Regions from separate parts of the Homo sapiens genome. Here region 2 is linked to region 1. Evidence: promoter capture Hi-C in human tissues and cell types (Jung and others, 2019). All regions are on one chromosome and are shown on one strand. The core of a region is centred on a gene start or on the middle of the fragment in contact, and the rest is flanking DNA. Distances in the headings are between cores, read along the strand shown.

Region 1 (7,891 bases), core at 2,968-5,467:
GTAGATGGACAGATTTATATTCATGTCTCCCACTCTAATCCAGTATCACAGAGTTCAATTCTAGTCTTTCTCTTTTGCTTGTTTTTAACTTCTCTCTCTGACAGTGTGAAATCTGGCTCCCATCGTCTGCAATGCTTTTCTTCATTTGTTTATATGTAAAGTAGTTTCAGAATTGCTGACACTGGCCAGGCATGGTGGTTCATGCCTGTAATCCCAGCACTTTGGGAGGCCGAGGCGGCTGGGTCACCTGAGGTCAGGAGTTCAAGACCAGCCTGGATAACATGACGAAACCCCGTCTCTACTAAAAATACAAAAATTAGCTGGGTGTGGGAGTGCATGCCTGTAATCTCAGCTACTGGGGAGGCTGAGGCAGGAGAATCGCTTGAACCTGGGAGGCAGAGGGTGCAGTGAGCCGAGATCTCACTACTGGACGCCAGCCTGGGTGACAGATGGAGACTCTGTCTCAAAAAAAAAAAAAAAAAGAATTGTTAACATTTACCCCTATGAGAAAGAAATTCACCAACTGGAATACAGTGTTTATGTACAGATTGTTTCGTCTTTAGACTTTAAATATCCAGTCAAAACACTGTTTTCCAAAGTTACCTAGATCAGTGGCTCTTTTCATACTCCTTCAGCAAATGTATGTCATACATTTGTAATACAGTTAGGTCTTTTTGTCGCAGATTAAATTCTATCCTGGTATCCCTCAACATCCTGGATGAGTTTTTAAATTAGCATACAATGAAGCTCCCCCTTTGTGGTGTATGCGCCTATGGGTTTTGACAAATTCATGAAGCCGTGTATCAACTACCTCAGTACCATAGAGAACAGTTCCAATGACCTAAAATAGAACGTGTGTGGTCCCTTTTTAGCTGATTTCTCCTCTAATCTTTGACAATCACTGAACTGTTTTCCATCCCCACAGTTTTGCCTTTTCCATAATGTCATACGCCTGGAATTATATAACATGTAGTCTTCTGGGTCTGGCTTCTTTTATTTAGCAAAATGCATTTAAGATTCATCCACATTGTTGCAGGAATCAAATAGCTCATTCCTTTCATTGCTGAGTAGTATTCCATTGTATGGCTAGATCCCGGTTTTTAAATATATTTGCCTGTTGAAGGTCATCTTGGTTGCTTCCATTTTTTAGTGATTATGAATAAAGTTGCTATAAACATTGGTTAGCTTGTTTTTGTGTGAACGTAAGTTTCTGATTCACTTGATTAAATACCTAGGCGTGTGATTGTTGATTTATATAAGTCTGTGTTTAACTTTATAAGAAACTGCCAAACCGTTTTCCAAAGTGACTGTACCACTTTGCATTTCCACCAGTGATAAATGGGAATTCTTACGGTTCTCTGTCTTCATCATCATTTGGTGTCGTCTGATTGATTTTAGCAATTCTAATCAGTGAGAAGTGATATCTAATTGTGGTTTTAATTTATACTTCCCTGGTGACAATGATATTGATCATCTTTTCATATGCTTATTTGTCATTTGGATTTCTTATATGATGAAGCGTCTGCTTAAATCAGTTGCCCATTTTTTAATTGGGTCATATGTTTGCTTATGGTAAAATTTTAAGAGTTCTTTATATATTCTGAATACAAGGCTTTCATCAGACATGTGATTTATAAATATTTCTTCCAGTCTGTAGCTAGTCTTTTCATTCTCTTAACAGTGTCTTTCAAAGAGCAAACATTTTTAATTTTGATCAAGTCCAACTAAACGTTTTTTTTTTCTTTCATGGATTGTGCTTTTGTTGTTGTGTCTAAAATGTTATTGCCAAACCCAAGTCCTGCTGATTTTCTATGTTTACTTATAGAATTTCATAGTTTCATTTTTTACTTTTATGTCTTTGATCCATTTTAGATTAATTTTTATATGAGATATAAGGTATGTATTCTTCAATATGCCTTCTTTTATTTTGTTGGTTTTGAACATGTGTTTTGAGCATAGACAGTCTTATTTTAGTACCATTTGGTGAAAAGAACATCATTTTTCCATTGAATTTAATTAGCATCTTTATAAAAAATGTTGTTGACTAAATATTCATAGATCTATTTCTGGGTTCTCTCTTCTGTTCCACTGGTCTATGGGTCTATCTTCCCACCAATATCATTCTCTCTTGATTACTACAGCTTTATATTGTCTTAAAATCATGTAGAATGAGTCCTTCAATTTTGTTCTTTTTCTGAATAGTTTTGTTTATTGTAGTCCATTTGCCCTTCCGTATAAGTTTTAAGATCATCTTATTGATATTTTCAAAACAATTTTCTGGGATTTTAATTGGAATTCCATTAAATCTATAGATTAAATCTTAACAACATAGAATTTTTAAATTCAGGAACATGGTATTTCTTTTCCACTTAGGTCTTCTTTAGTTTTTCATCTGTCTTACAGTTGTCAGAATATATATCCTGCACAGATTTTGTTAGGTTTACATTTAAGTACGTCATATTCTTGTGTGTGCTGTTGTAAATGATATTTTTTATTTTAGAAGAATCTAAAATATTTTGATTCCTAGTATATAAGAATAGAAATGGCTTTTGTATATTTACTATGTATCCGAAAACTTGCTAAACAAGCATTTTTGAAAAAAAAGACAATCTGTCTCTATTTTCTCATTGACTATAAAATTCCTATTTCAAAGCACTTTGAAAAAGATGTTTGAAGAAAAACCTATGTATTTTCTCGTATTATAGACAATTCACAAGAAAAAGCACACAGGCCAGATGCCGTGGATCATGCCTATAATTTCAGCACTTTGGGAGGTTGAGGCGAGCAGATTGCTTGAGATCAGGAGTTTGAGACCAGTCTGGCAGACATGGTGAAACACCATCTCTACTAAAAATACAAAAATTATCTGGGCGTGGGGGCACATGCCTGTAATACCAGCTACTCGGGAGGCTGAGGCACGAGAATCGCTTCAACCTGCGAGGTGGAGGTTGCAATGAGCCGAGATCACACTACTGAGCTCCAGCCTGGACAACAGAGGGAGACTCTGTCTCAATTAAAAAAAAAAAAAAAGAGAGAGAGAGAGAGAAAAAAGTCCACAAATGGCTTCTGAAGATAAGAAAAGATGCTCAGACAGCTTGAAATAAGGGAAGCTGAAATTGAAACTTTGCTGACAAATTATGTTTCATCTCTAATATTAGCAAATATCTTAACCTTTGGTAATAGGGTATGCTAGCCATCTTCGTCATACAAGCCCACGTGGAAGGCAATTTGGCAATATCTAGCAAAATTACAAAATTACAGTCCTTAACCCAGCAATTCAATTTCCAGGAATGTATCCTACAGATATTCTTGCAAATGTACAAATGACAAATGTACAAGATTACTAATTGTAATATGTTTATCATAGAAGAAAAAAATACCTTAAGTGTGAGTCAATATGGAATTGGCTAAATATGTTATATCTACACAATGTAATACTATATAAACTTAAAACTAGATTTCAACAAGATCTTTGCATTATTTGCAGATGGAATTTAATAAAATACAATAATTAGTTAGGTACAACTAACAACAAACTTATACTGAGATCTACATATTCCAATGAGAATTCATTTCAAATGTGTCATTAAATCTGAACACAGAAATAAATGGACCTTCAAACTAGCTCTTTATTGAGTCACAAAGTGTTAAGCCAAATTTTTAAAAAACAATGAAATCATGTTAATTATACATAAAAATTTTTTATTTCTTTTGTGGCCCTCCTTTGACAATATTTTATTAATTAACAATATAACTATAGCAAAGAAATGTGCTGTTAATTAATTTTTAATGTTAATTTCACCTCTCATTCATTTTCAGATTTTAGTTTTGTGTATGTTGATAATTTATGTAGCATATTAGTACAGAGGTACAGAAGTGTGATTTATAATTTAATATACATCTAAAGAGGATACATGCTTAACTTTATTAATGGAATTTGTGATAAAGTTTGCAGACTGTTGCCTTAGAGAAGAGCTCTCACTTGGACGGGAGGCCCTGGCCAAGTTGTGTAGTGAGGACAGTTGTTGAGAGGAAAAGAGAAAAAACGAGAGGTATTAAGGCCCAGAAGAGAGTTAGCACCTGCTTCAGAACACAAGCGTGCAGGATGATATAGCTTTTAGTGCCAAGAAGTAGAATTCTAGCATCTCTAGGTGGTGAGAAACAAAGGACTAAGAATTTTTCTTTCTCTAACACTCTAAAGAAAGGTTCTTGAGCTAGGAAAGGATTACTCGAGCCTTGTTAGAATCAGACATGGCTTCAGGGGATGCAGGACGCTCCCCTGAGCTGCCTGTCACCGACTAAGTGGAGCAGTGTTTCTTCCGCAGACTCAACTGAGAAGTCAGCCTCTGCGGCAGGCACCAGGAATCTGCCTTTTCAGTAAGACCTAAATTACTCTTATGAAGCCACCTGTCCCTGAGAACCAGCAATGGCAGGTTCTTGAAGGATGTAGAACATGATGCTTGGGGTTATCATTGCTACGGGTTTTGTTTTGACTTGTTTGAGATCAGTTAACATTCTAAGGCAGAGGATGGAAACCAACCTTATTTGTAAGCTCTGCATCTTTTTTTTTTTTTTTGAAACAGGATGTCACTCTGTTGCCCAGGCTGGAGTGCAGTGGCACAATCACAACTCACAACAGCCTCAACCTCCCAGCCTTAAAAGATCCTCCCACCTCAGCCTCCCAAACAGGTGGGACCACAGTCACACACCACTATGCCTGGCTAATTTTTGTGTATTTTGTAGTGACAGAGGTCTACCTTTGTTGCCCAGGCTGGTCTCAAACTCCTGGCTTCAAGCAATTTGCCCTTTTCACCCTCACAAAGTGCTGAGATTACAGGTGTGGGCCACCATGCCCAGCCTAAGCTCTGCATCTTAAACCTCGTTTGTCTGTCCCTCACAGCTTAGCACAATGCTGTACACCACGGACTGGCATGATCTCTCTGAAAAGGGCCAGATAATAATATGTTAGGCTTTGTGGTCTATACAGCCTCTAACACAGCTACTCAACTCTGCCACTGCAGCAGGAAATCAGCCACCAACAATATATTACCAAATGATGAGAGTAGCTATGTTTCAATAAAACTTTACATACAAAAGCGGGCCTGGTTTGCCCACGCTTGCTATTCACGTTTGTAATGTACATGCCCCTCATGCAATGCAGTTCCTTATCTTATTGCTTAGTCACCTTAAAGCCCTGCTTGTTACTCGGTGCGGTGGCCTTGCTGATGACTACTTATCCCTGTTTTGGGCCTAGCCTTTCAATGCAGGAATCCAGCCCCAGGGAGAGAAACTAATGACTAGAGAAGTTTCCAGGCAAGTGCAGAAAATGACACGGGATGAACATATGTAAGAACATCAAGTTCAGGATCCCGAGTAGTTGTCAGAAATTTCACTTCACCCCATCCCAGCAAGGCTGTTGTGTTTGGGGAAGACATTATTTTAAGAGGGGAGGAGATTGTGGAAAATCAGTAGGCAGCAGGAGACAGCGCTCTTGATCCTACTCCCATTTCAGACGATTCTATGGGGGCCTCTTTATTGTCCCTCTGCTCCCCCAGGTGCTTTCCTCCTTTCATGAGGCTTTGTCCTCCATCCCTCTTGCTCCCCAGTCAGGTGCCAGACTTTTAGGAGGCCGCCCGGAGCACTGGTTGTGAAGCTTAGCAAAGCAATGCATTTGCAATCTAAGATAAAACACTAGTACTTTGGAAGCAATGCTCCCACATTTTGAAATGCATCAAGAAAAGAAAAGGAAAGATTAGGTGCTTAATCTTCACCCTTCAATAAACCCCCAAACGATGAATCTTTTTTTTTTTGAGGCGGAGTCTCGCTCTGTCGCCCAGGCTGGAGTGCAGTGGCGCAATCTCCGCTCACTGCAAGCTCAGCCTCCTGGGTTCACGCCATTCTCCTGCCTCAGCCTCCCGAGCAGCTGGGACTACAGACACATGCCACCACACCCGGCTAATTTTTTTGTATTTTTAGTAGAGACGGGGTTTCACCGCATTAGCCAGGATGGTCTTGATCTCCTGACCTCGTGATCCGCCCGTCTCGGCCTCCCAAAGTGCCGGGATTACAGGCGTGAGCCACCGCGCCTGGCCTAGACGATGAATCTTAAAGTTTTCCATTCAGGTCCACGTGTATTTCATCTCTGGCTGAAATGGGGTGTCTGTTTCTACACACCCAGTTGATCCTTGAACAAATGTAGGGGTCGGGGTGCCAATGCCTGCTCAGTTGAAAATCTGCATGTAACTTTTGACTCCCCAGAAGCTTAACGACTAATAGCCTACTGCTGACTGGAAGCCTTACCAATAACATGAACAGCCAATAAACACATATTTTGTACGTTCTATGTCTATACTGGATTCTTACAATAAAGTAAGCTAGAGAAAAGAAAATGTTATTAAGAAAATCATAAGGAAGAGAAGATATATTTACTATTTGTAAATATTAACTATTTGTTAATAGTAAATATTTACTATTATATTATATTTACTATTTGTTAAGTGGAAGTGGATCATCATAAAGGGCTTCATCCTGGTGGTCTTCACACTGAGCAGGCTGAGGTGGAGGAGGAAGAGGAGGGGTTGGTCTTGCTGTCTCGGGGTGGCAGAGGCAGAAGAAAATTCACGGATAAATGGACCCACGCAGTTCAAACCCATGATGTTCAAGGGTCAGCAGTATAGGGAATGTTTCACCCCTGTATTCTATTTTTCATTCATAGAATTAAAATAGAAATCCTAAAAATGCCCCTTGTGGTTTTCACCTGGATGTGTATTAAGGAAGGTTAATTTTTTCACTTACTTAACCCTGAGAACACAGCATTGACTTGAAAGTTACTGTATGGAAAAGCATTAAGGAGACAGCCTGCAGTCACATTCCTTCCCTGGACCGTAGAGTGGCCGGTTTTCCCTGATGGTGGCACTGAATGACCAAAGTGACAGGCAGCATCTAGGCAGGGCTGTGCACAGTCACCGATGCTGGATTTCGAAGTTCCTGAATCAAGATCGTCTGACCTGTTCTCCGGCTCTTTGGCAGGTTCTGTCTCCGGCAGGCTTTGAGGATGAAGGCTGCGGGCATTCTGACCCTCATTGGCTGCCTGGTCACAGGCGCCGAGTCCAAAATCTACACTCGTTGCAAACTGGCAAAAATATTCTCGAGGGCTGGCCTGGACAATTACTGGGGCTTCAGCCTTGGAAACTGTGAGATTATTTCTTTCCTGCTCTCTTTCTGTCCTTGACCTTTCCCCTGAGATGTTGAAGGTCCTGGCTACACTCCCTGCTGTGTCTCCCCAACTACCCCTGCTCTGCCCTCACCACACCCAGGGGTGGCTGCTGGCCTAACTGTGGCTCTCTGGGTCTCCTCTCCTTCCTCCCCTGCCCCTCATTTCCTTATTCCTGGAGTCCTGTCCTTATGACACTAGCCAGGGAAGGGGAAAATAATGCCACCTCTGCTGGCATTGTGGGGAGTGGGGGGACCTGACTGTTGGTCTAGATTAGGCTCAGCCCCTGACTGGGTGTGCAGCTTCAGGTGTGCCATCCCAGCCCCTGATGTGCCCCTCGTGTGCCCCCTGGGCACATGCCCGCCCTGCCCTGCCCAAGGTGTATTGGGAGGAAGCAGTCAGGTAACAGGGATGAGGAAACTTGCCCTTAGACCAAGCTTAGAGCAAAAGATGGCACCTCCTTTGCTGGCGTTTCTGGCTTTCCCCCCTCCAGGGATCTGCATGGCGTATTATGAGAGCGGCTACAACACCACAGCCCAGACGGTCCTGGATGACGGCAGCATCGACTACGGCATCTTCCAGATCAACAGCTTCGCGTGGTGCAGACGCGGAAAGCTGAAGGAGAACAACCACTGCCACGTCGCCTGCTCAGGTGAGGCTCTGACTTTCCAGTGATGC
Region 2 (7,891 bases), core at 1,080-3,579, 200 kb after region 1:
CTCTCCCCCCCCACCTACGGCCCAGGAGGTGGGGTGTCCCAGGCACAACCCAGATTCAAACGCGGTCACACTCCAAGTCCACGCCCTATTCTTCCCAGTGCCCAGGTCCGTGCTCCCTCTGCAGTTTCTAGATTGCCTCCGCGCGGTTGCGCACGCCTGTAATCCCAGCGCTTTGGAGGCCGAGGCGGGAGGATCACTTGAGGTCAGGAGTTGGAGACCAGCCTGGGCAACATAGCTACCCCGTCTCTACAAAAAATCTAAAAATTAGCCAGGCATGGTGGCTCACGCGTGTCATCCTAGCTCCTCGGAAGCTGAGGTAGGGGGATCCCTTGAGCCCAGCAGTTCGAGTCTGCCGTGAGCTATGATTGCGCCATGGCACTCCAGCCTGGGCGACAGAGCGAGGCCTTGTCTCAAATTTAAAAAATAAAATAAAACAAAAAAATTTTTGAGACTGAGTTTCGTTCTTGTTGCCCAGGCTGGGGTGCAATGGAGCGATCTGGGCTCACCACAACCTCCGCCTCCCTGGTTCAAGCGATTCTCCTGCCTCAGCCTCCCGAGTAGCTGGGATTACAGGCATGCGCCACCACGCCCGGCTAATTTTGTATTTTTAGTAGAGATGGGGTTTCTCCATGTTGGTCAGGCTGGTCTCAAACTCCCGATATCAGGTGATTCGTCCGCCTCAGCCTCCCAAAGGGCTGGGATTACAGGCGTGAGCCACCGCGGCCAACCAAAAATAAAATTTAAAAAAAAAATTTGCCTTGTACCTTCTCTAGAGCCCTCCACATTTCTGCTATGGAAAATGAATTACAATACAACCCGAGGATGTATTGAGAGAATTGCTGGAGGAGATAGGTTAGTTGAGGTGACAAGCCAGGGGCTTTTTGCAGGACCTTAACTCGCAGACAACAAGCCCAGGTAGCAAATCCAACGTCGAGGGCCGATTGACTGAATGGGCACTGTCATCCGTCAAGTTATTTTAAATACGAGAGCGATTTAATTTATATTCATTCACCTCATGAAGCAGGGCTTTGCCATTCCCTCCAAATATCCAGGCAGTCCCTTGCACCTAGAGGAGAACCCCTTCCTGAACCCTCCGCCTTTCTGATCTTGGAGGGAGGGAAGGCAGCTTCCACCAACCCGGCAGCACTGACCCGGCAGAAGCAGCCTGGGCCGGGGTTGGGGAGGAGAAGCCCCGCTCGCTTGCGCGCCGGATGGGTGGAATTTGGCACTGGCTCAAGCGGGTTATCCCAGTCTCAGCTGAAGCCGAAGTTATCAGTACACTTTTGGCCTTTTCGCTGGAAACCAGGTTAGCACAGGTTGTTACCTCTGATTGTAACGTGAGAAACAGAGACGTCTCTTTCTCTACTGCCGTGTTTAGACAACAAAGGATGATCTTTACACGAGTTTTAAAAATAGAACCATGGAACCACTCCCCTCCCCACCCGCCTTGTGTGAGCTCATTAAAACCACACCTAATCTTCTGGGAACTGCATTATTAGCCTTACTTCCTACACAGAAGTCTCCCAAATATAGCTGCATTTTAGGGAGCTGGTGAAATGGCTGGTCTAGCAGGGTTCTCTCTTGCTTCTGGCTTAATCCAGAGCAGGTTCATCTGTTGGGGTAAATTAGAAGGTTTTACTTGAAAACGTATGTAGAGTTTTTAACAAGGAGGCCAAAAGGGAGAGAGCAACTGAAAAGAAAGAAAAAGTCTGTGGACTCCCTGTATGTATGTATGTATGTATGTATGTATGTATGTATGTATGTATGATGTATTTGAGACAGGTTCTGGATCTGTCGCCCTGGCTGGACTGCAGTGGGGCGATCTCAGCTCACTGCAACCTCCACCTCCCTGGCTCAAGTGATCCTCCCACCTCAGCCTCCCAGATAGCTGGAACTACAGGCGCATGCCACCACACCCGGCTAATTTTTGTATTTTGGGTAGCGTTAGAGACGGGGTTTTGCCATGTTGCCCAGGCTGGTCTCAAATTTCTGAGCTCAAGCGATCTGCCCGCCTCAGCCTCCCAAAGTACTGGGATTACAGGCGTGAGCCACCTTGCCTAGACTCCTTGCATTTTTCTGGTCTGGCTTTTTGTTTTTTATGCAGGCTTACAAAAACAATCCTGCTCTTCTAGGGGCGAGCTAAGTGAGTTTTAAACCTACCAATGAGAAGTCCCTTGAGCCACAGTGCACACAACCATAGGGGGTTATTCTGGAAGTGATCCTAAAGCACATTACGAAACAGCTCTCTAGAAGCTGTTTGAAGCAAGCAAAATGCATTTGCAAATAAGGCTGTAACCGATTGCAGTTTACCTGAAGAAGCTTGCTCCATCTCATAGGTTGGGACATTAATGGGTTTGTAATTTGTAGTTTGGAAATCCAAATTATTTTACTCACAGAAAGAAAATTATTAACAATGGGTAGGTAACCCTGTTGGCCCATTAACCGATGTAACCACAATTGTGCTCTAGACTAATTAATATGATATGGGGCATTGTTTCTCAGTTTTTTATATTCATAAAATATGGAATTTTGTGAATAAAATAACTGCAATAAATTGGGAGCATAGCTATAGGTCACTTGGCGAAAATATGTTGTTTTTTGTTAAAAAAAAACAATAAAATACAAAGTATTGAAAGTAGATAATTTGAATAAAGCTTTAAATGAGATATTTTTAAAGTTAAGAGGAACTTGAGCCTGATTTCATGATCATAACTTTTTCTTTATGGTTTCATGTTGAAACAGCTATACAGATTAAGAGTTTCAACAACAACTTCTTTATACTTTTGATAATAACTTTCAGGTGAGAAGCTGTACAGACACGTAGGTAATACATTTACAACTATTATTATTGTCTTAAATTGTGAACAATTTGAAATTGGATTCTAAAAATTCAGTATCTCTTTTTTTTTTCATTGATATGTGTAAGTTTCTTATGATAATGTGAGTGGATTTCAGATATAATTGAAGTTTTTCTGGCCGGGTGTGGTGGCTCATGCCTGTAATCCCAACACTTTGGGAGGCGAGGCAGGTGGGAACACCTGAGGTCGGGAGCTTGAGACCAGCCTGACCAACATGGTGAAACCCCATCACTACTAAAAATACAAAAATTAGCCGGGTGTGGTGCCTCATGCCTGTACTCCCAGCTACTTGGGAGGCTGAGGCAGGAGACTCACTTGAACCTGGGAGACAGAGGTTGCAGTGAGCTGAGATCGTGTCATTGTACTTCAGCCTGGGCGACAAGAGTGAAACTCCATTTCAAAAATAAAAAATAAAATAAAAATAATTAAAGTTTTTCTGGTTTTTTTTCCCTTTTCTTTCTTTCTTTTTTTTTTTTTCCAGACACAGTCTCACTCTGTCGCCCAGGCTGGAGTGCAGCGGCACGATCTCAGCTCACTGCAAGATCTGCCTCCCGGGTTCAAGCGATTCTCCTGCCTCAGCCTCCGGAGGAGCTGAGATTACGGGTGCATGCCACCATGCCAGGCTAATTTTTGTATTTTTAGTAGAGATGGGGTTTTGCCGTGTTGGCCAGGCTGGTCTCAAACTCCTGACCTCATGTGATCCACCCACGTCAGCCTCCCAAAGTGCTGAGATTACAGGTGTGAGCCACCACATCTGGCAATTTTTTTTATATTAAGAGTTTCAAGCAGGACATGGTGGCTCACACCTGTAATCCCAGCACTTTTGGAGGCCAGGGGAGGATTTCTTGAGCCCAGGAGTTCAAGACCAGGTTGGGCAACATGGCAAAATCCTCTCTCTACAAAAAAAAAAAAAAAAAAATTTAAAACATTAACTGGCCATGGTGGCACGCACCTGTAGTCCAAGCTACTCGGAAGGCTGAGATGAGGCAGAAATTTAAAAATAAATATGCATTCATTCACTGTAAGAAAAGTAACAGGCACGGCAAAGGTTAAAAAGAAAAGAACAAGTTTCAAGTTTTCCTCTGCCTAGCAAGCTCACTTCAAGAAGAGTTATAAGATAATGCTGTCCAGAAAGCCAAGGACAAAGGAATGGGCTCCAGACAACACCCCCCTCCAGAGAAAGGTTGAAGGAAAAAAAAAAAAAGAAGAAAAAGACAAATTCTTTTACTGTTACTCCTTTCCCTGGTTTCTTAAGCATGATTATGTTTTACAAATCTCTGTATTTAGCCAGTTCTTATTTTTCTTTTGACGCAGCTATAAGGTCACTAGCTAGGCAAGGCCACAAGTTATGCTAAGTCAACAGTTATGCTATAGATTATGTGACCTGTTACTGTATGATTAATTGCTTTTGTTTGGCTTTTGTAGGTTTGCTTATAAAAACCCCACTCAGTCTTTGTTCAATGCTCAGCTTTTTGGATGCGAATCCACTGAGCTGGTGCATACCTAAAATAAACAATCCTCCTGTTCTCCATATCAGTCTCTCTGGTCCTCAGTTTCTTGAGCCCAGGATGTTGAGGCTGCAGTGAGCTATGATCATGTCACTGTGCTGCAGCCTAAGTGACAGAGTGAGACTCTGTCTCAAAAAAAAAAAAAAAAAGAGGGGCGGGATTTTCAAAATGACAAAGTAACATGCAGAAAATGCATGCATCCTTAGAGCAGTTACCTTGGATACCACTGAAAAGGCACATCGGCCCAAAGAATGAAGTATCCAACGGAGGTAGACATTTAGGGTTGCCTTTTCCACTGTGGGAACGAACAGCTCCACCCCATGCCCCACCTCTGCCACTGACTGCTCCTTGGACTATGGCCATCTGCTCCAATACCTAAAACATAAACTCCTTCCTCTAACACAGGCTAGGCCCTCTATTCATGACCATGCAGTCATGAGAACCTGTTCAGCCTCACTTAGCATCTTGAGGTGGAGCAGAGCCATCCATCAGACCTGTGGGGACCACAGGGTGCTTCATTAGATTCTGCTGTCCCCCAGCAGCCCTCTAAGACAACCCAGGTGAGATTGGAAAGACACCAGGCCCTAGAGCCACAGGCCCACCTGCCTGCCTTAAGCAATAGAGATGAGTATCTATAATGCATTCATGGTACAGCAATAGGCAAGACTATGCCCTCAGCTCTTACAACCCTCTTCCCTTCCCATCCACCTTAGGACTATGGGGGAGGAATGCAGACAAGGTTGAAAGGGACAGTCTTCTCCATCCTCCTCCTTCCGTTTTCCTTCTCCTCCCCTTTGGGAGGTAGCTCACCAGCTTTTGCCTTTCCTGTGTAAAGTGAAAATAGCAACTGAGCAAGGGAAATGGGGCCCCAGGCAGAGATGAGGTCCTCCCGTGGGGGAAGGGGAGAGAAGTCCCCGGTAACCCTGGGAAGGGAAGGGGAGTTCCTAAATTCACTCAGCTGTGGCTGTTGTTTATCTTGAAGGCTGGGTGTAAATTGGGCCTGTATATGAACCAAGACCATCTGTTCTCATGTGCAGAAAACTAAAATGTAGGTCTCTCAAAGGGCCTAAATAGCATTATTCTGTATGCTAAATGTTAAGAATTTTATTACTTACTTAGTGTTGTGGCTTCCCCAAATTTGAGGTTCTCGAACTGCACTTTAAAAACAGAACTATTGGTCTGTGCTCCTGTGTTCCACCTCCCAAATGGAAACTCCTTGTGCAGGGTTTCTTGATCATGGCCTTCCGAAATGACCACATGGCATAGGACTGCTAGCACCCAGAACTGTGCAAGACTGTGTCCTCATGCGCATGCAGTAGCTTTCACTTGCCACACTTTTTTTTTTTTTTTTTTTGAGATGGAGCCTTGCTCTGTCATTCAGGCTGGAGTGCAGTGGTGTGATCTCAGCTCACTGCAACCTCTGCCCCTGCAAGGTTCAAGCGATTATCCTGCCTCAGCCTCCCGAGTAGCTGAGATTACAGGCCTGTGCCACCACGCCTGGCTAATTTTTTGTATTTTTAGTAGAGACAGGGTTTCACCAAGTTGGCCAGGTTGGTCTCGAACTCCTGACCTCAAATGATCCACCTGCCTCGGCCTCCCAAAGTGTTAGGATTACAGGCATGAGCCACAACACCCGGCCTCACTTGCTAAACTTTTAAAGGGGGAGAAAGGCTCAGCAATCATGCTCTCTCCAACTCCCTATCTCCTTAAACTGCCTAGGGCTAAATGCTATGGTGTAGCCCCAATTGAGTTGGTGGAGATTTCCCATATGCAACCTTAAGTGCCTCCTCTCACTCCTTTACATATTAACCTCACAGTCCTGTCTCCCCTCAGTACAATGCAGGGCCTGAAAATACTGCACAGTGAAGGCTCTGCCTGTGAAGGGAGGGAACTGCTGTCAACATATTGTTTGGGCAGGGGGAGGAATTGGTTAAATATATATATATATAATCTGATCCCCATCCTGTACATGCAAGTGTAAATGCATAAAAACAGAAAAAAGGGCTGGGCATGGTGGCTCACCCTGTAATCCCACAGTTTGGGAGGCTGAGCTGGGAGAATCACCTGAGCCCAGGAGACCAGCCTGGGCGATATAGTGAGACTCCATCTCTAAAAAAAATTCGTTTTTTAATTAGCCTATGTGGTGGGGGTACCTGTACTCCCATCTAATCAAGAGGTTGAGGTGAGAGGATCGACTGAGCTGAGGAGGTCGAGACTGCAGTGAGCTGTGATCAGGCCACTGCACTCCAGCTTGGGTGACAGAGCAGGACTCTGTCTTTAAAAAAAAAAAAAGAACATGCGTGACCAGGTGCAGTGGCTCATACCTGTAATCCCAGCACGTTGGGAGACCGGGGCGGGCAGATCACTTGAGGTCAGGAGTTTGAGACCAGCCTGGCCAACATGGAAACCCTGTCTTTACTGAAAATATAAAAATTAGCCGGGTGTGGGGGCGTGCACCTGTAATCCCAGCTGCTTGGGAGGCTGAGGCAGGAGAATTGCTTGAACCTGGGAGGCAGAGGTTGCAGTGAGCCAAGATTACACCACTGCATTTCAGTCTGGGCAACAGAATAAGACTCTATCAAATAAAAAAAAATGAACAAAATAAAACTAGAATATTATACCCTTCAAAAATAATTTATTAGTCTTTTTGAAATGGTGTTTTCCCCATGCAATGGTTTGGGAAACGGATTTAAAAGGATGTGGTGTGCTTATCTTCATGTGAGACTTTGTTTTAAGCTGAGCTAAACACATTTTGTTCCTTGACTTTTCCTTTCTTAGTCCCTTTTTGTGCTGCTATAACAAAATACCTGAGCCTAGGTAATTTATAAAGAGGAGAATGTATAAAGAACAGGTCTAGAGGCAGGGAAGTACAAGATCAGGGCACTGGCAGGTTGGGCATATTTGGTTGTCTGGTGAGGGCTGCTCTCCCCTTCCACGATGATGCCTTGTTGCATGATGGATTGTCAAAGGGCTATGGAGCCACTGCTCCCTGAAGCCTCTTTTATAAGGGCTTTAATCCTATTCCCAAAGGAAGAGCCCTCATGGCTTGATCACCTCCTAAAGGTCCCACCTCTTAATCCTGTTGTCAGAAGCTTTTGAACAAGAGCGACTCCATCTTGAATACAGCTGGGTAAAATAAGGCTGAGACCTACTGGGCTGCATTCACAGGTTAGGCATTCTAAGTTCCAGGATGAGATAGGAGGTCGGCACAAGACCTTGCTGATAAAATAGGTTGCAATAATGAAGCTGACCAAAATCCACCAAAACCAAGATGGTGACAAAAGTGACCTCTAGTCGTCCTCACTGCTCATTATATGCAAATTACAATGCATTCACATGTTAAGAGCACCATGTGACCAGCACCGTGACAGTTTACAGATGCCATGGCAATGGCAGGAAGTTATCCTATATGGTCTAAAAAGCGGAGAAACCCTCAGTTATGGAATTGCCCACCCCTTTCCCCGAAAACTCATGAATAATCCACCCCTTGTTTACCATATAATCAAGAAATAACTATAGGTATCC

The links. Contacts are between HindIII fragments. The study calls those that stand out against the background at their distance.
Region 2: a fragment that was not itself captured here is called in contact with the fragment with the promoter of LYZL2 in region 1 in 1 of the 25 tissues and cell types used here (mesenchymal stem cells).

The regions. Positions count from the first base shown.
Region 1 is chr10:30,626,079-30,633,969 of GRCh38, reverse strand. It overlaps LYZL2 (lysozyme like 2), which reads left to right and starts at 4,217. Exons shown (of 5, transcript NM_183058.3): 1 at 4,217-4,377; 2 at 7,030-7,193; 3 at 7,707-7,865. The coding sequence starts at 7,055. The HindIII fragment of the contact is 10,435 bases long and covers 1-5,957 here.
Region 2 is chr10:30,425,093-30,432,983 of GRCh38, reverse strand. No RefSeq gene overlaps it. Among named protein-coding and RNA genes, the nearest start is that of MAP3K8, 5.1 kb to the left of the region's middle. RefSeq lists enhancers at 1-813, 1,321-1,380. The HindIII fragment of the contact is 5,454 bases long and covers 1-5,056 here.